Linked DNA regions of Homo sapiens: regions 2, 3, 4, 5, 6 and 7 are each linked to region 1. Evidence: promoter capture Hi-C in 16 types of primary human blood cells and fetal thymus (Javierre and others, 2016). All regions are on one chromosome and are shown on one strand. The core of a region is centred on a gene start or on the middle of the fragment in contact, and the rest is flanking DNA. Distances in the headings are between cores, read along the strand shown. Region 1 holds the start of PGRMC2 (progesterone receptor membrane component 2). Region 2 overlaps C4orf33 (chromosome 4 open reading frame 33). Region 3 overlaps C4orf33 (chromosome 4 open reading frame 33). Region 4 overlaps SCLT1 (sodium channel and clathrin linker 1). Region 5 overlaps SCLT1 (sodium channel and clathrin linker 1). Region 6 overlaps SCLT1 (sodium channel and clathrin linker 1). Region 7 overlaps SCLT1 (sodium channel and clathrin linker 1).

The links. Contacts are between HindIII fragments. The CHiCAGO score rates a contact against its expected background, and 5 or more counts as called.
Region 2: a contact is called between a fragment that was not itself captured here and the fragment with the promoter of PGRMC2 in region 1, in 1 of 17 cell types (neutrophils). The highest score is 5.9, in neutrophils.
Region 3: a contact is called between a fragment that was not itself captured here and the fragment with the promoter of PGRMC2 in region 1, in 16 of 17 cell types (naive B cells, total B cells, non-activated CD4 T cells and 13 more). The highest score is 28.9, in naive B cells.
Region 4: a contact is called between a fragment that was not itself captured here and the fragment with the promoter of PGRMC2 in region 1, in 10 of 17 cell types (neutrophils, fetal thymus, total CD4 T cells and 7 more). The highest score is 13.2, in neutrophils.
Region 5: a contact is called between a fragment that was not itself captured here and the fragment with the promoter of PGRMC2 in region 1, in 1 of 17 cell types (fetal thymus). The highest score is 6.1, in fetal thymus.
Region 6: a contact is called between a fragment that was not itself captured here and the fragment with the promoter of PGRMC2 in region 1, in 2 of 17 cell types (M1 macrophages and monocytes). The highest score is 5.3, in M1 macrophages.
Region 7: a fragment that was not itself captured here is called in contact with the fragment with the promoter of PGRMC2 in region 1 in 4 of 17 cell types (neutrophils, total CD4 T cells, M2 macrophages and 1 more); the score reaches 11.3 in neutrophils.

The regions. Positions count from the first base shown.
Region 1 is chr4:128,286,553-128,289,090 of GRCh38, reverse strand. PGRMC2 (progesterone receptor membrane component 2) reads left to right here and starts at 1,278. Exons shown (of 3, transcript NM_006320.6): 1 at 1,278-1,718. The coding sequence starts at 1,301. RefSeq lists silencers at 1-277, 649-838, 1,159-1,338, 1,349-1,398, 1,579-1,638. The HindIII fragment of the contact is 4,970 bases long and covers 1-2,538 here.
Region 2 is chr4:129,115,448-129,117,985 of GRCh38, reverse strand. It overlaps C4orf33 (chromosome 4 open reading frame 33), which reads right to left. Exons shown (of 6, transcript NM_001099783.2): 6 at 1,349-2,538. Among named protein-coding and RNA genes, the nearest start is that of C4orf33, 21 kb to the right of the region's middle. The HindIII fragment of the contact is 5,561 bases long and covers 1-2,538 here.
Region 3 is chr4:129,097,567-129,100,104 of GRCh38, reverse strand. All of the region lies in intron 1 of C4orf33 (chromosome 4 open reading frame 33), which reads right to left. Among named protein-coding and RNA genes, the nearest start is that of C4orf33, 2.7 kb to the right of the region's middle. The HindIII fragment of the contact is 2,806 bases long and covers 1-2,538 here.
Region 4 is chr4:129,078,385-129,080,922 of GRCh38, reverse strand. The region is part of intron 2 of SCLT1 (sodium channel and clathrin linker 1); the gene reads left to right. Among named protein-coding and RNA genes, the nearest start is that of SCLT1, 14 kb to the left of the region's middle. The HindIII fragment of the contact is 5,094 bases long and covers 1-2,538 here.
Region 5 is chr4:129,061,025-129,063,562 of GRCh38, reverse strand. The region is part of intron 2 of SCLT1 (sodium channel and clathrin linker 1); the gene reads left to right. Among named protein-coding and RNA genes, the nearest start is that of SCLT1, 31 kb to the left of the region's middle. The HindIII fragment of the contact is 666 bases long and covers 945-1,610 here.
Region 6 is chr4:129,037,855-129,040,392 of GRCh38, reverse strand. It overlaps SCLT1 (sodium channel and clathrin linker 1), which reads left to right. Exons shown (of 21, transcript NM_144643.4): 5 at 1,297-1,352. Among named protein-coding and RNA genes, the nearest start is that of SCLT1, 54 kb to the left of the region's middle. The HindIII fragment of the contact is 1,814 bases long and covers 356-2,169 here.
Region 7 is chr4:128,949,924-128,952,461 of GRCh38, reverse strand. The region is part of intron 14 of SCLT1 (sodium channel and clathrin linker 1); the gene reads left to right. Among named protein-coding and RNA genes, the nearest start is that of JADE1, 140 kb to the right of the region's middle. The HindIII fragment of the contact is 2,437 bases long and covers 47-2,483 here.

The DNA.
Region 1 (2,538 bases), core at 29-2,528:
ACAAATACCCTAGCCTACTAACTGCTTTCCCACTCTTTCCCCAGCCTCTAATCCTTCAGACACCTGGTTGCTATACAGCCTCTCTACAAGAGTGTCGACCCTGTCACTTGCCTCGTCAATATCCTCAGTGACTCCTACAAAACCGACAGTGAAAGGTTCAAACCTATTCTATGAGACTCAAGACAACAGACAACAAAGGGCAAGAGAGAACACGTCAAACGAGTTCGTCAAACGAGTTGAGTGCGTGAGACTTCAGAGGTCACTTTTTCACACTAGAATTTCAAGGTGTGAGAGGCTAAAAGACGTCCAAGTACATGAAACAGAACCTGCAAATAAGAGTGAATGACGAATAGAAAGACCACCTCAACCTGTCCACTTCCCTACGGCCGCAGAAGTTATGATTCAAGGAATAATGAGACTCTAAATCCTTTAAAATTCTACAAGAGCAGCCTTTGCCAAACCCAGCGGGGAGTGGCTGCTCGGTGCCAGCGCGAGGAGCACGTAGACTGCCGATGCCAGAGAAGCCCGGTGCGGGTTCCGTGCTTTCTCTCCGTTCCAGGAAGACCCCAGCTCGTGGCCAAATCTTCTTGCCGCTTCCCGGTCTGCGCGCCTACGCTGCCGGTTTCCCGACAAAAGCGACGGCGCCCTGGTGAAAAGCAGACGCCCCTCATCGGTTTGCGCCTTGCAGCTCAACTATGCCCCAGCCTCCCACAAGCCACCTGCCCGCGTCCTCCGCCAGGCGTCCAGCCCGGACCTGCCCCCGCGGCCGCCAAGGCGCACGTGAAGCTCCCGGGCGGGGGGAGCGCAAGGAGGCGGGAGTTTGCGGACGCGAACGCAGGCCTAGGAAGGGAAGCGATTCCAGGGCGCACGCGCAGAGCCTGGAGACTGGGCGGGGCGTGCCTCCCGCAGGGGTTACGAACGAAAGGCGAGCGCGTGGCGCTCAGGAGCCCGCGCACGCGCTGTGGTCTCGCCCCGCCCATGAGCGTCCGCGCGGCCGTCGTAGCATCTTTTCTTCAGACCCGCCCGGCTCGTCTACTTAACCTAGCGGAGGCTTGGAGTGAGAGCAGGGAAGTGTGGGGCGAGGTGGGCGGGGCGTTGCACGCGTGCGCGGCCAGCGAAAGAAGGGAGGGGGCGGGAGATCCGAGACAACGTTACCCCGTCAACACCCAATCAGGAGCCGGCCTGACCCCGCCCCCTCTTCTCACGTTATTGGCTGAGAGGCCCCCAGATGGGCGGGGCCGGCCGTGGGGTTGGGGAGGGCAGGGGGCGGGGAGGAGGAGGAAGGCGCTGGCGGGCAGTGATGGCGGCTGGTGATGGGGACGTGAAGCTAGGCACCCTGGGGAGTGGCAGCGAGAGCAGCAACGACGGCGGCAGCGAGAGTCCAGGCGACGCGGGAGCGGCAGCGGAAGGGGGAGGCTGGGCGGCGGCGGCGTTGGCGCTTCTGACGGGGGGCGGGGAAATGCTGCTGAACGTGGCGCTGGTGGCTCTGGTGCTGCTGGGGGCCTACCGGCTGTGGGTGCGCTGGGGGCGGCGGGGTCTGGGGGCCGGGGCCGGGGCGGGCGAGGAGAGCCCCGCCACCTCTCTGCCTCGCATGAAGAAGCGGGACTTCAGCTTGGAGCAGCTGCGCCAGTACGACGGCTCCCGCAACCCGCGCATCCTGCTCGCGGTCAATGGGAAAGTCTTCGACGTGACCAAAGGCAGCAAGTTCTACGGCCCGGGTGAGGAGTTGGAAGGGGAGGGGAAGGACCCCCTGCAGCTGAAGCACAACCCCCTTCGGACAGGGAGGCCTCTGGGCACCGGGTTAGTTTGCCCAGCCTTCTCGTCTCCGGGACCCCCGCGCCTCGGCCGCCGCACCTGGGACGGCCCATCCCGCCCCTACACACACACCGTCCCCCCGCAGCTACGGGCACCTCCAGTTCTTCCCCCGAAACCAGGGTCCCCGGTGGCGCCCCAGAGACCAGCTCTCAGCATTCATCTTTCTTCCATCCCATTTCTCCTCGCAGCCTTTTTTTTTTGTTTCTTTGGCTGGATTTTTCAAAATCGTTTTAGTTGTCACAGGTCAACGCTGGCCCTTAACCTTTTTTGAGTCTCCTGATTCCTGGGATGGATGGGGCACCAGGGAAGGGAGATTTCTGAAGTTGGGACCTAAACTAAAGTTTTGGGCTCTGTAATTCACCGTTTTCTTTTCCTTGCCCCCTTTTTTTTTTTTTTTGCCACTGATCTCCTTTTTTCCCTCGCTGTATTACTCCGTAAGGCCACGTTTAGGGGCATGTAAAGTCCCAACCCTCCAGTCTCTGAAGTCCAGACGTATAAGCAACACCTCGGACTCTCTTTAAACCAGTTTTAGTTCGGAGTTGCTTTCCATGATTAACAAGGTATGTGGGATGAGAACAGACCAGAATGCAGAGCTTATTAAAGACTGGTAAGGATATTCACCTTGAGTTTTGGGGGTGGAGCTCCTATACCCAGCAGGCGTGTCTCTGGTTTCTTTTTTCTTTTTTTTTCTCTTTTCAAGTACACGTTGATAATGACTTGTGT
Region 2 (2,538 bases), core at 14-2,513, 830 kb before region 1:
TGGGGTTAGGGGAGGATGTGAGGGTGCAGGGCTGTTTCTCAGGTTCTGAGTGTGGGCACATAGCCGACTCCACTGGGTGTATCAGCTGCTCGGATGTTCAGAGACCTCTCCCACTTGGAAGAAGGCATGCAGCAGTTTGGCTGGCTCGAGGGCAGGTTCGTCCTGGGAAGGACTGGTATACGGTTCCTCCTGCCTTAAGCAGGGGTGGGGGTTGGTTTCTCTGCCATACAAGACCAGAGTCATAGCCAATCCTGAGCCCAGACTCCCCACAGCTGGGTTGTGAGGTTCAATCATCCATGTGGGTTTGGCATAATGAAGATGGAGCCCCAGTGCTGGAAAAGCACAGTGGCTACTGACCTCAGAGCAAGACACACTCCAGAGATGGCTCAGGTCTCAAGATGGCACCATGCTGCAGCAGCTTGGCTCACAGTGGGTGAGTAGGGGTGGGGAGTATACACCTTGTACTACTAATCCAGTGCAACACAGCTGCATAAATTCCCTGCAGCTCTCCAAGATGGACTCGGGGCTTACAGGAACTATGGGATTCTTCTGTTTAAGGACTATAGGTGTTTGCGGTGGCTATGGGGCTGGGGGACAGTGGGGATCTCCTGCTTATCCTTTTCCCACATGTGAAGTCTCTCCTGACTCCAGGTATATCTGATCCAGGCAGAGAAGATGAAGCTGCAGACAACAGGTACCTCCACCTTACCCTCGTAGACTTCCAATCACTACTCCTCCATCACACTCCAGCACTCTCCCTTCAACACCGTAGTCAAAATCTTAGCTGTTTATTCATTGCCTTGGTCCTCTATTGTGGTGGGAATGAATGCCAGGTGTTTCTAGTCAGCCATCTTGCTGACATCACTCTCAATAGCTTTATTTTGTAGATGAGTAATGAAGACTAAGAAAGGCAGCAGCATAGTAAATAAGTGCCTTCTCTTGAGAATCAAATTCCCTGGGTTCAAATCTGCTACTTCTTAACTGTATGATCTTGGGCAAGATACTTAACTCTGTAGGTCTTAGTTTCATTAACTTTAAAAATAAGCATTCCAAGAGTATCTGACTTTCTTTGAGATTGCTGTAAAAAGTAAGGGTAAAGTTCTTAATATAGTTTCTGAAAAAATAATAAGTATTCAATAAGTATTAGATATTTCAATGAGGCCACTTGCACTAGGTCAGGCAGCTAAAAGGAAAGCCCAGTCTATTGTGGGAGTATAAGACATTTGGTGTTTCTGCTGTGTATGCCAAAGCATACTAATGATATTTAGTGATATTAATGATATTAATAATATCACTAACTAATATTATCTTTTTGCCATTTTTCAAAAAACTAATTCAAAAACATACGTTTGTTTTTAGCATAATTTTTATTTCTCTGAATGCTCAGACTTCAATTTACAGTTTGGTTTTCTATTTCAGCAAAGCTATCTCTTCAAAATATATACTCTAGGTACTGCAGTGCTTTAGGGCATTATTACAAACATGGGCTTTCAGTGTACTATTGAGTCAGAAATGCTGTTTAACGGAAATTACAGGTGATAGGCTGCCAAAAGAAAATAAATTTTTACTAAACCTTGCATTCTCTGCGAATTTTTCAAGAGTGCAAAGTAAAAAATTTACAGAACACCCAAAGCTCTCTCAGGAGCCAGTGATGTAGCTATATATTATTTCATTGTAATTCAAATAAGTAGTAAAGTGAAATGTCATTTGACAGCATTTCCTATTTCTCCTTTATATTACATATTAGATTTATAAATATCAGACAAAAATTTACTCGTAGATCCCATTACATGGAAAAGAATATTTTAATTACTGGTTATTTATTATGAAATAAAATAAAATATGCACAGACACCCCTCACTTTTCATAGATTCATGATTTCTGGCTTCCTATATTCCTCATACATGTGTCATCTTAGCTTCAGAGGTAACTCTTTTTACTATTCCTTCCATGAAAAATGATAGTTGGTAAAAAATAGAGTTACAATAGTCAATTTTATAAGTTTTGCTCTTTCAGAGCAAATTAAGATAAGAAATTATCAGAAAATGAGTAGGGCCCAGGAATGGTGATTTAACAAAAAATATGCTACACACATACACAGCACATTTTATGCTCTCTCTCTATATATATATGTTATATATAAACATATATATTTTATATATATATATATATATATATATATATTTAGTTAGAAGATTTGTTAGGCACATATTCCTCTTGGACTTAGGTGCCTTAGGCTGGATACCCCTTCTACCCCTGACAAAAGCAGAGGGTTGTGTGCAGTGCATTAATTTTGGAATGTGATTCTAAGGAATGGGATTGGGAACTTTGGAAAAATTAAATAAAGCAAGCCAATCTAAGATTGCATTTTTAAGCTGATCAGTACTGTAGGTAACTGAAGACCCTAGTGGAGTCCTACTGGAGACCACTAAGGAACTATACAGAATGCACTTCAGAATTGTCTGCCCAAGGGACGGAAAAGGGGAGTATTTATCCACTGAATCCTGTCCCTATTGTCAATTCCCTCAAACTTCCAGG
Region 3 (2,538 bases), core at 23-2,522, 810 kb before region 1:
TTCCCCCCTAAGGTTTCTTTGAGCATTATTTGAAAATTACTGCAAAAAATAGTGACTAGACTTCCACAAGTAGGGAATAGTGCATGGCTGATCAGTCCAAAGACAGAATATAATTTTGGCTTTAATTGCATAAACAACTTTCGTTTCTTATTGCAATGACAAATTTGTTTTTTTTTTTAAACTTTATATCGCTTAAAGAACACTGACGTCAATCTAAGAATGCATAATATTTATAAAAATTAACCTAAAAAGTATAGTCCGTCCTGCCCAGTAGTTAACAGTCTAGTTTAAAACTAACATAAACTAGAGACAGATGATTCTCCCTCTGTAATCTTCTGAGATTTAACCCCCACAACCTTTCAATTTCTTTGTATTTGAACATGTGTTCATTAAGTAAAGACAACTTAATTGTCAATGTCCTTCACCTCTTGGGCTAGCGCTCCCCTCCTGGTCATTCTCTATTAACCTATACACTGCTCTATTTCTATTCTTACATGGCAATTACATGGCATTACATATTTGTTTATTGACTCCCTGAACCCAGCTAGAATGCCTATAAGTGATGGTTACTATTTATTTGTTGAGTGAATAATTTTTCTAGTCCCTGGATCTAACACTCTAGATTTTGTGCAGGAGAAATCTACTGTGTTCGTGGTATCATCATCTCATTTAACACTACATATCAGATCAATACAATGGCTAATAACAAAGATAATAAGCCCAGAAATTCCCTTCAATTTAGTTTATCAAGCATTTATTAAGCACTCATCTTATTTCAGGTACCATACCAGGTGCTGGGGAAATAATATATAATAAGTCTACAGGAGTTTGGGATGGTTCTCATGTAACTAATCAATGAGGTACCCGTTTCCAACATCAGTTGGTTCATTTTGCAGTCCAATTTAATTCAGTGGGATCCTTATACCAAAGTAAGTTTTAGATGAATCAAAGATTTAAACATAAAAATCAAAATCATATAAAAACAGGAAATAAAAAGAGAGTTAAATAAAATCTTATAGTAGTAAGGTAGGAGATGAGCTGGGCTTGTTTTCTGAGCACCAAGGTCCCACTGATTGAAACAGAATCTTATCAAAACAAGATGCAGCAAAGAAACTGGCCACAACCAGCTAAAACCAAGATGGCAACAAAAGTGATCTCTAGTTGCCCTCACTGCTCATTATACATTAATTATAATGCAGTAGCATGCAAAAAAAAACTCCCAACAGTGGCATGACAGTTTACAAATGCCATGGCAACTCCTAGAAGTTACCTTATATGGTTTAAAAAAGGGAGGAACTCTCAGTTCTGGGAACCCTTCCTACTTTTCTGGAAAATGCATGAATAACCCACCCCTTATTTAGCATATAACCAGGGAATTGTATGTATACAGCTGGCCAACAATTCATGGGAGCTGCTGCTCCTACTCTGTCTATGGAGCAGCCATTTTCCTGTAGTTTGTTGCTCTGATAAACTTGCTTTAGCTTGTGAATCCTTTCCTGCATGAAGCCAAGAACTCTCCTGGGCTGAGCCCCAAATCTGGGCTTTCCCTGCATTAGTAGAGAAAACCTTTTAAAATACAAACCAAAACCCAAACATTTTACTACATAAATATAGCAAAACTAACATGGATGCAGCTGGAGGCTATTATTCTAAGCAAATTCATGAAAGTACAGAAAACCAAATACCACATATTTTCACTTATAAGTGGAAATTAAACAGTAGGTACTCATGGACATAAAGATGGCAACAACAGACACTGGGGACTACTAGAGGGGGGAGGGAAGAAAGGGGCAAGGGTTGAAAAACTAACTACTGGGTACTATGCTCACTACCCAGGTGATAGGATCATTCGTACCTCAAATCTCAGCATCATGCAATATAACCATGTGACAAACCCGCACATATATACCCTGGATCTAAAATAAAAGTTGAATTTTTTTAATAATAGATAAATAATAGTAAAAAAGCAAAAACCTCCTTCCCAAGTTCCCTTTACTCCAAAAGCCTATCATTAACAAAATCAAAAGTCTGGGGAAAAGTATATGCAATTCATACTTGATACAAATAACTAATTTCTTTAATGCACAAAGAGCTCCTAGAAATCAATAAGGAAAAGACCAACACTCCAACAGAAAAGTGACCAAAAATTATGAACAGCCAGTTCACGGAGAGAAAATGCAAAATGTTCACTTATAATGACAGAAATGCAAACTAAAACCACAATAAATTACCATTTTTCACTTAGATTGGCAAGGATCAGAAAGTCTGACAACAAGCTGTGTTAATGAAGGCATTGAGAAAAAAATCATTTATTGCTAGTGAGGCATAATTGATATAGCCTCTGTGAAGAGCAATACGTCAATATCTATCAAAATAAAAATGCAACTATCCTTTGACAAAAATAAGTCTAGTTCTAGGAGTTACTATACCTGCACATATTCAAAATGACATAAGCGTTGAGGATATTTGTGGTAGCATTGTTCATAATAACAAAATGTTGGAAGCAACTTAAATACCCATCAGTAGAGGACTGGTAAA
Region 4 (2,538 bases), core at 16-2,515, 790 kb before region 1:
ACACGGGGGAGACCAACTCATCTGGCACCCCAGAAACTCTCTCTCCCACAGACTGCAGAACTATGAGCCAACTAAACCTTTTTTTCTTTATAAATTACCCAGTCTCAGATGTTTCTTTATAGGAGTGTGAGAATGGACTGATATAGAAAATTTGTACCAGTGAATGGGCATTGGTATAAAGATACCTGAAAATGTGGAAGTGACTTTGGAACTGCATAATGGGCAGAGGTTGGAACAGTTTGGAGAACCCAGAAGAAGACAGGAAGATGAAGGAAAGTTTGGAACTTCCAAGAGACTTGTTGAATGGTTGTGACCAAAATGCTCATAGTGATACGGATAGTGAAGTCTAGGCTGAGGAGGCCTCAGATGGAGAAGAGGAGCTTACTGGGAACTAGTGTAAAGGTCACTCTTGCCATGTTGTAGAAAGAGACTGGCAGCTTTGTGCCCCTGCTCTAAGGATCTGTGGAACTTTGAACCTGAGAGAGATGATTTAGGGTATTTGGCAGGAAACTTTCCAAGCAAGAAAGCACTCAAGATGTAGCCTGGCTGCTTTTAACAGTGTAAGTTCATATGTGTTTGCAAAGAGATGGTCTGAAACTGGAACTTATATTTAGAAGGGAAGTAGAGCATAATAGTTTGGAAAGTTTACAGCCTGACCATGTGATAGAAAAGAAAAACCCATTTTCTAGGGAGAAATTGAAGCTGGCTGCAGAAATTTGCATAAGTAAAGAGGAGCTGAATGCCCAAGACAATAAAGATGCCTCAAAGGCATTTTGGTGATGTTCACCACAGCCCCTACCATCACAGGCCTGGAGACATAGGAGGGAAGAATGATTTTGTGGGGGCAGGCCCAGGGCCCCACTGCCCTGTACAACCTCAGGACATTGCTCCCTGGTCCCAGCTGCTTCAGCTCCAGCTGTGGCTAAAAGGGCCCCAGATAACATCGCAGTCAACTGCTCCAGAGGGTGGAACCCATAAATCTTGGCAGCTTCCACATGGTATTAAGCCTGTGGGTGCACAGAGGGCAAGAGTTGAGGCCTGGGAGCTTCTGCCTGGATTTCAGAGGATATATGGAAATGCCTGGATGTCCACACAGAAGCCTGCTGCAGGGGCGCAGCCCTCATGGAGAACCTCTGCTAGGGCAGTGCAAAGAGGAAATGTAGGGTTGGAGCCCCCACACAGAATCCACACTGGACACTGCCTAGTGGGGCTGTGAGAAGGGAGCTACCATCCTCCGGACCAAAGAATTGTAGGTCCACCAACAGCTTGCACTATGTGCCTGGAAAAGCCTCAGGCACTCAATGCCAGACTGTGAAAGCAGCTGCAGGGAATGTACCCTGCAGAGCAACAGAGGCAGAGCTGCCCAAGGCTGTGGGAGCCCACCCCTTGCATCAGTGTTGCCTAGATGTGAGACATGGAGTCAAAGGAGATTATTTTGGGCCCCTAAGGTTTAATGACTGCCCTTCTGGGTTTTGGACATGCCCCGCGGCCTGTAGACCCTGTCTTTTGATCAATGTCTCCCTTTTGGAAAGGGAGTATTTACCCAATTCTATACCTTCATTGTATCTTGGAAGTAACTAACTTGTTTTTTATTTCACAGGGTCATAGGCAGAAGGGTCTTGTCTTGTCTCAGATGAGACTTTGGACTGTGGACTTTTGAGTTAATGCTGAAATGAGTTAAGACTTGGGGGACTGTTGAGGAGGGACGATTGTATTTTCCAGTGTGAGGATATGAGATTTGGGAAGGGCCGAGGGTGGAGTGACACACTTTGGATTTGTGTCCCTGCCCAAATCTAATGTCGAATGGTAATCACCAGTGTTGGAGGAGAGCCCTGGTGGGAGGTGATTGTATCATGGGGGTGAATTTTCTCCTTGCTGTTCCCCTGATAGTGAGTGAGTTCTCATGAAATCTGCTTGCTTATAAATGGGTAGTACCTCCCCATTTTCTCTCTTCCTCCTGCTCCAGTCATGTAAGATGTGCCTTCTTTCCCTTCACCTTCTGCATTCTGAAAGTTTCCTGAGGCCTCCCCAGCCAGGCTTCCTGTACAGCCTGTGGAACAATTAGCCAATTAAACCTCTTTTCTTGATAAATCACCCAGTCTTATGTATTTCCTTATAGCAGTGCAAGAATGGACTAATGCAGAACTAAAATTATTTTCAAGGTATTAAAAGTGAAGAGCTTGTTTTTAGTATTAAAAAGGAATAGTTTATTTGGTTGGCTTGAGTACTTATTCTTATAGATATTTTTTAATGTATATTCAATATTTAGCTGACTGCTCTATGCTTTTATTTCCAAAGACCAGATTCAGAGTCCACAGAGTCTTGAAGCTATCCATTCACTATTTGCTGTTATAACCATATTATTTTTATTATAATATATAATTTTTATGCATACTTAATAACTGTAATAATTTAAGTGATAGAGAATCTTTCATATTCCAACAGCCTTTAAGTTTTGCTCAGAATCTTAAGATTTTTGCTTCTGTTTAGTGTCTTGTGGAATAGGCCTGAACAAAAGAGTAAAAAAAAATTTTTATT
Region 5 (2,538 bases), core at 28-2,527, 770 kb before region 1:
TGTCATGTGCACCCCCTAGATGGGGAATGCAAGCACAGTCAGCTGGCACAACTCTTTGGGATTTAGAGAATGCACACAAACTTGAGCATTTCAGGGCACTACCCCCACAAAAAAAACATGGGATATTCTCAACACCCAGCCTAGTTTAATGGGATCCAAAGAAAGCATATAGTCTTAGGAATTCTCCCTAAACGGTAATGGCTGAAGGTATGGAGTGGGTACATCTATTGAAAATGTCTAAGAGAAGCTTGGTGAAGCTGTTTGTTTCCCAAAGCCAGTCAGTAAAGACCGCAGGAGGTGACTGCTTCATATGTTAAGATGGCAACGTAAGACTGATTCAGATGTTAAGATAGCAACGTAATACAGTTAATGAAATGAAAAGTGCAATAGAGAGCTTTAGCATTACACTTGATCAATTAGAAGAAATAATCTGTGAACTTGAAAGCAGGTCATTTGAAATTACCCAGTCAGACAAGAAAAAAAGAAGATTGAAAAGTAATTAAGAAAGCTTAAGATATTTATGAGACATTGTCAAAAGAAGTGATACACAGATTGTGAGAGTCTCAGAAGGAGGAGAGAGAAAAAAAGAAGCACAAAGCTTAAAGAAATGATGTCTGAAAAATTCCCAAATCTTGGGAGACGTCTGGACGTCAGACATAAGACCCAAGGGTTCCCAAACAGATTCACCCAAAGATGACTTTACTCAGGCACATTATAATCAAATTGTCAAAAATCAAAGACAGTTAATTCTAAAAGCAGCAAGAGAAAAGGACTTATAACATACAAAGGAACTTCCGTAGGCAATCAATGGATTTCTCAACAGATACCTTACAGATCAGGAGACAGTGGGATGGTATATTGAAAGTACTGATAGAAAAAAAAAGTCAACCAAGAATGCTTTACCCAACAAGACTACCCTTCAGAAATGTAGGAGAGATAAAGCTTTTCCTAGACAAGCAAAAGCTGAGGGAGTTCATCACCACTAGCCCCAATTTACAAAAGATGCTAAAGAGTTCTTGAAGCTGAAGCAAAGTGATACTACTTATTAAAATATTGAAACATGAAACTATCAACTCATTGATAAAAGTAAGTTTATAGTCAAGAATATTCTGACACTGTAATGGTGGTGTATAAATCACTTTTACCTCTTCTACAAAGGTTAAAAGAGAAAAAGTGACATCTGCAAGATAGCCAAGTAGAAGACTCTAGCAATTGTTCCCCTCACAAAGATAGCCAGAACAACATATAACTTCATTTTAACAAAAATAACCGAGAGTGAGTGCCAGAGTGCATCAGAGGAGTAACAGAAACCCAAGTGGGCACAGAAACTCAAAATGGCCATGTAGAAAATGGAAGGAAATGACGGGCTTCCATTACACCAACCCCCAACTGGGACCAGCTAGGAACAAGGAGGAATTTCTCTCTACTTGGGAAAGGTAAGCAGGAGGATCTCAGCAGCCTGCATTAACTCCTTGGACCTTGCCACTGGGGTCCCCTGCATTAACTCCTACGGACCTCGCCACTGGGGTGGCTGCGAGTTAATGCAGCCTGCATTAACTCCTACAGACCTCGCCACTGGGGTCCCCTGCAATCCTCAAAGTCACTAAGCTTATCTGAGGGAGCAACCTAGAGTCCACATAACCAGGAACTAACACTGTACCCTGACACCTGAGGCTTATGCAACTAGTGTGCTATGCACTGTGGAATTGAAATTGCAATTGGAGTGTGCCTTGCTCTGGGGGCAAGTAGCTCCCCTTCATTAACTGAGGCTAAGCAGCTTTTCAGCCACCTCATCTCAGTGGTTCAGCATCTCAAGACTGAGCTGTGAGAAACTGTTACACCCTTCCCTGTGGGCCAGGCAGAGGTGGAACTACTCTACCTTCCCCTCACCCCATCCACGCCCCCACCACCAGACTGGACCCAAAGTGGTACCCTGTCTCCTATGAGAACAGCACCTTAGCCACTCAGAGCAATCACATCTCCTCAATGCCTCAATTTGAAGCAGCATCCCACATTCTAGCAAAATGGTGTTTAGACCACTCAGAATGCTCATTGTCCCCAGGATTGATCTGAAGTATGCTATCACCTTCTGGGAAATTGCTGCCCTGTCAGACCTGAGTTGCTTATCCCAAGGAAACATCAGTGACTAAGCTGAAACACCCCACCCTACAGGCCAGACATCTCATACCCTGCTTCCCTGGAGCTGGACTAGCCCCTAGAGTCTGTGCTGCAGAGACACATTTCTTTCTAGGGAGTGGATTAATTGTTGGGCTATTCTGATGCCCCCAAAGCTGGAAAGACAACTGTACTTTGCCATTCTGGGAAACTTGCTGCCGCGCATCTGCCCTCACAGAAAGTAAGATACAGATAAGCCTTACCATCCTAGGGTCTATAGTCACCACTACATGGTGTCTTATCCCCTGGTATCTGAGATGCCACTGAACTCTACTGGCTCAAGTTGCTTACTTCTAGGTATACTCTGCTTCTCAGGCACAAATCTCCAGAGTACCTTTTCTTCTCAGGAGTTGGGCCAGTGCT
Region 6 (2,538 bases), core at 13-2,512, 750 kb before region 1:
ATTATTTAAAAACTATAAAATTAAGATAATGGCTACAATAAATCCAAACCTCTTGCCATGGCATTCTTAAAACCCTGTACCTGTCTTTCCAATTTTATCTCTCACTGTATCAGTCCATATATGGTCAGTGCTCAATTATCTGGTAGTGAATTAATCCATGTTGGTTTAATTGTGTTTCAGGCATAACGAGGACCTTGGAAAAGTTCACCTTTCAAACCAAATTTATAGTTAGAATTTGCTATTCTGATCTCCTAGACCAAGCTTCCTTGATCTTCTCGGTTGAAAGAGAGAGAAAAAGGCTGGCAGAACTGCCTGTTCCACCTGGCCCTTGCGAAAGTGTACTCCAGGATAAGCTTCTCTCCTTTAGCTTAGGAAGCACAATCAAGACTAATACACAATCATGAATTAGTTACCGTTTTAAGTGAGATTTTGCATGCTTTTACATGTAAATTCAGGGTTTTGTGTGTGTGTGTGTGTGTGTGTGTGTGTGTGCGCGCGCGCACACTCTCCATTTGCTCATTCACACTTACTGAGAGTTGACTACTTATTTTTTGCTATTTTGCTTTTACTCATATTTTCGCCAACTTTAAATGCTTTCTTTTCTTTTGAAATCCTAACATCTTTTTACTCCTTCAGAGAACGTTAATCAGACCTTCATTTAATTCCCTTTCTGGTGTGCATTTTATTCTGCCTTGTATTTTAGTTAGGATTTTTTTTAACCATCTTTCCTACTATTTTTCAATGAGCATGTCTGTTTACCTTAGCGCCTTGTATGGTACGGAGAGTTTAGATAGTTAATGAAGGTGGTGAATCAGAAACTGAATGAATGACTGCTAAAAAAGACCTCCATTTTCTTCTTTACTGTTAGCATTTTACCTTTTGAAATACTAGAAAAATATACATACTTATATGGGCTTCACCTAAACTGAGGTGAATTAACTAAGATATACATTCAAGATACAGGAACCATCTGGTATTTGTTATAGTGACATACTCCAGAATATCTTTCATCTGTTTTTCACAACTACAAGTCATAGGAATTACATTTATAAACATTTCTCACCATGTTACATAAAATATTTCTATTTTATTTATATTCTACTTAAAATGAATGTTTTATTGTGTTCTGTTTATTAGTAAATTATCCATATTAATTATCCCTTTGTTATAAATAAAGAATAAGTCTTTCTTATCTGTAAACTAGTGTCAGAATCTGATTGCTTACGTGAGTGGTCTACTTAATGGAGATCTGATTGTCTGCAAAATGTATTGCCACACCATATTTTATTCTTTCAGAAACAGGTGGGTGAGATGAAATTACAACTTGAAAATGTCATCAAGGAAAATGAAAGGTAAATCAATTAACTATTGGTTTTATCTTTTATTATTGTCTTAGGTAACTTTTATTTTTGTTATTTGATATTTGATAGCTATAGTATTAATAGTTAAGAATGTGGACCCCGGGGCTGATTTTCTATTTGACTCCTGGCTCGATTACTTGTTAGCTGTGTGACCCTGGACAGGTTACTTCCCTTTCTGCTTTAGTGTCCTCTTCTATAAATCAGAGATAATAATAGAACCTATTTCATAGGGCTGACTGTAAGGGATAAAGTAAGTACTTGGAGTAGCATACAAAATAATCACCTTACCAATATTAGCAATCAATAATGTAGTATATAATATATATGTATGTTAGAAAACATATTGATAAAATGAAAACTTTTCAGCCTACCACTCAGCTTGAATGTTAAAATGTTGCCAGTGCTGGTGCATCTATCCATGTTTTTCTTCCATTTCCCATCCTTCTCTTTCTCTCTGCCAGAGATAAACACTATCTTGAATTTTGTGTTTATCATTCCCTTGCTTTTACAGTTTTTTTATAGGTATGTGTATCTCCAAGCGATATACTTTTTAGTTTTACATTTTTAAAGACTGTATAAAAACGGTATCATCTAGTGTTCTAGGACTTACTTTTTTATTCAATAACATACACAAGTGCAAGAGTTTCAAGGAAGGAAGTTGCTGGATTATAGGTTATATGAATATCAATTTTGCAATATAATATCAACTTAATTTCCAAAATAGGTGTACCAATTTACATTCTTACCAGTGATATTTATGAGTTTATATTGATCTATATCTTTTAATACCTGTAGCTCTTGTTAAGCTTAATTTTCATCATTTTGACTGTTAAATACTTTTTTATTGTTGTTTTAATTTGCATTTTCCTGAATACTAATATTGTTGACTTTTTTTTTTGAGACAGAGTCTTGCTCTGTCTCCCAGGCTGGAGTGCAGTGGTGCGATCTCGGCTCACTGCAAGCTCCGCCTCCCGGATTCGTGCCATTCTCCTGCCTCAGCCTCCCCAGTAGCTGGGACTACAGGTGCCCGTCACCACGCCCATCTAATTTTTTTTGTATTTTCAGTAGAGACGGGGTTTCACCATATTAGCCAGGATGGTCTCGATTTCTTGACCTCATGATCTGCCCGCCTCAGCCTCCCATTGTTGACCATTTTTATATGTTTATTTACCTATGT
Region 7 (2,538 bases), core at 16-2,515, 660 kb before region 1:
AAGAGAAAGTATATATAACAGTGGGAAGGAAGAAATACAGAAAGCTTCCTGAAAGAAATGAATACTGAGGAATGAGTAGGCCAAGAGGGGAGAGGAAAAGAATACTTGTGTGGCTAGAGGTGAGATTGGAAATAGAAGTTTAACTTGAAGATTTGATGTAATGAAATTTAATAACCTTGCTTATAGGAGAATAAAAGTATAACAATTTTCAAGAATTGAGAAAATGTTTATAACTTCACAAACTTTCATCTTTTCTGACTCCCTGTATCACTTTTTATCTCTGTTACAAAATTTAGCAATGAATCATATCTTGTAATAACTATCATGCTTTAGGTGTATGTTGAGCATACACACTCTGTCTCTCTCCATGAAAATCTTACCTCTGCAATTAGATTGTAAGCATCTCAACATAGTAGAGTCTTACGCCTTCCTTTATTTTCCCTGTTGCTTGCCTAGTACAGTGTTTTGCAGAGTATATTTTTAAATGTTTATCAACTGAATGGTATATTTAAACACTCTGAAAGAGGGATCACATTTTCTTTCGCCATTCTACAAACTTTGGAGAGCACATGACGGGATCTTAATCATTGTGTATTGGTCCCAAATGTAATAGAACAAGGAATATTTATTTTGTATTTGTTTGTTTAATGTCACTTATTTTAATAATGTAGGAACATCAAGTAAAATTAGTGAGATGCAATGTGGCCAGTTAGTGACATGTAATTTTTTGTTGTTGTGGAGTTTTGCTTCCTTTTCTATCACCCAGTTATTTTGCTTGTTTTCTTTCATGGGCTGATTAGCTATCAAGAGATTCGTATCTTTGTGGAAAAAGAGGAGTAGAAGGGTACTACCCCAGTCCAAGATCATTTAATGGATGGTAAACTCTGCAAGGGCATGAATATTCATTCTTTCTGTATTCTCAAGGGAACAAGGACTGGCTAAGACTTCCAGGGATTTTTCAAATCGTTGTTAGCTGTGTAACAACCAGAGCTATATTAAACTCACTTTAGAGTAAAAAGAATGACAATTTCAGTTTATTGCAAAAAGTGTTTCTTATAGTAAAACAATTCTACTTCATAGCTAAGTGATTTTTCTAAAGATATGAAACATCTCATAGTCATGTTGATTCTATGGGGAGAACTATACTGTGTAATTGAAAAGTTTGAAGTATTATGTTAAAAATATGTTCAAAGGAAAACATATTTGGCTACTTTAAGACAGATTTTCTCAAAAAATCTAAGCTACAGTTTGAAGCATAATAACCTGATGCTTGCTATTGTTTTCTATTATTAACAATTTTACTATCTAGACTAATAGTATTAGTATAATATACTATCCATCTATACTATTTATTTACACTATGAAGTCCAGGAAGGAAGTTATGCATACTTTTGCTGATCCAAAAGTAAGGTATGCTCACAGGAAGGAGAAAAATTTGTATTTTAGATGAGTGTGCAGATTATTTAATAGATTAAGAAAAAGCCGGAGCCATTACATTTCAAGCTACATATCTCCCTTTGGAGACCAACACGTACCTAACAGCCTTTGTTTTCTCTGGTAAGGTGTAGTTTATCTTAAGAATATTCAAGGTTTTATTCTGCCATGTAGCAGATTGCTATTAATCTATATCAAATAAGAAAATTAATTATAAAATGTTCAAACTTACAAAAGTAACATAAAATGTTCATTATGATCTTTTCTTTGATGGATGAATTTTTTGGAAGTCTTTTTTTTAGTTTCTAAATACATGAGGATTTACACTGTCTTTTATTGTTGATTTCTCATTTGGTTAGGTCGGCAGCACAGATCATGGTCTATATGGTTGGTTCTTAATATGTATTGAGACTTCTTTTATAGAGTATTATTTTGGAAATACTCCATGAGTACCTGAAAAAATATCTATTATTTTGTCATATTTTCCCCCAAAGGTAGGCATGTCAGTGGTGATAAGCAAATATCTCTAAAAACTTTGTAATAGTAATTTTTAATGTTTGCTTTAGTATTATAGTGCATTTCTACTAGAATTAGTATGGTAATTCTCTCTAAAGGCTTAAACTTTGCTGTCTCATTTTACCTTTTTTACCCCCAGGTTAACCAAATATTCTTTAGGCCATCATCATTTGTCAGTGAAATGGTGGATTGGGTGGAGAGGGATATGAAGCATACTTACACATGCATTTCTTTATATACCACTTGCCAGCCCCAGAAGTGTGAGCCAGACTTTGTTATTAACATATATATTAAAAATCACATGGGAGGAGTTACGAATGTAGGTAAAATCCCAAATTTAGCACTGAAACTACCCTCTCCTAGATAAGCAACTTACTATATGAATATGTGGAATATTAATGTTGCATTTTGTATACACTCAGGGTTCTATCTTAATAAAAGATATTAAATTTAAATTTGTCAACTGATTTGTAACAGGTTTAAAGATCTTCATTATCATCAATGGTGATTAATTTTGGGTCACAAAAGAAGCTTACTTTAAAATTTAAAAACATATTGAAATACACTTCTTCTATAAAATAATTGAAC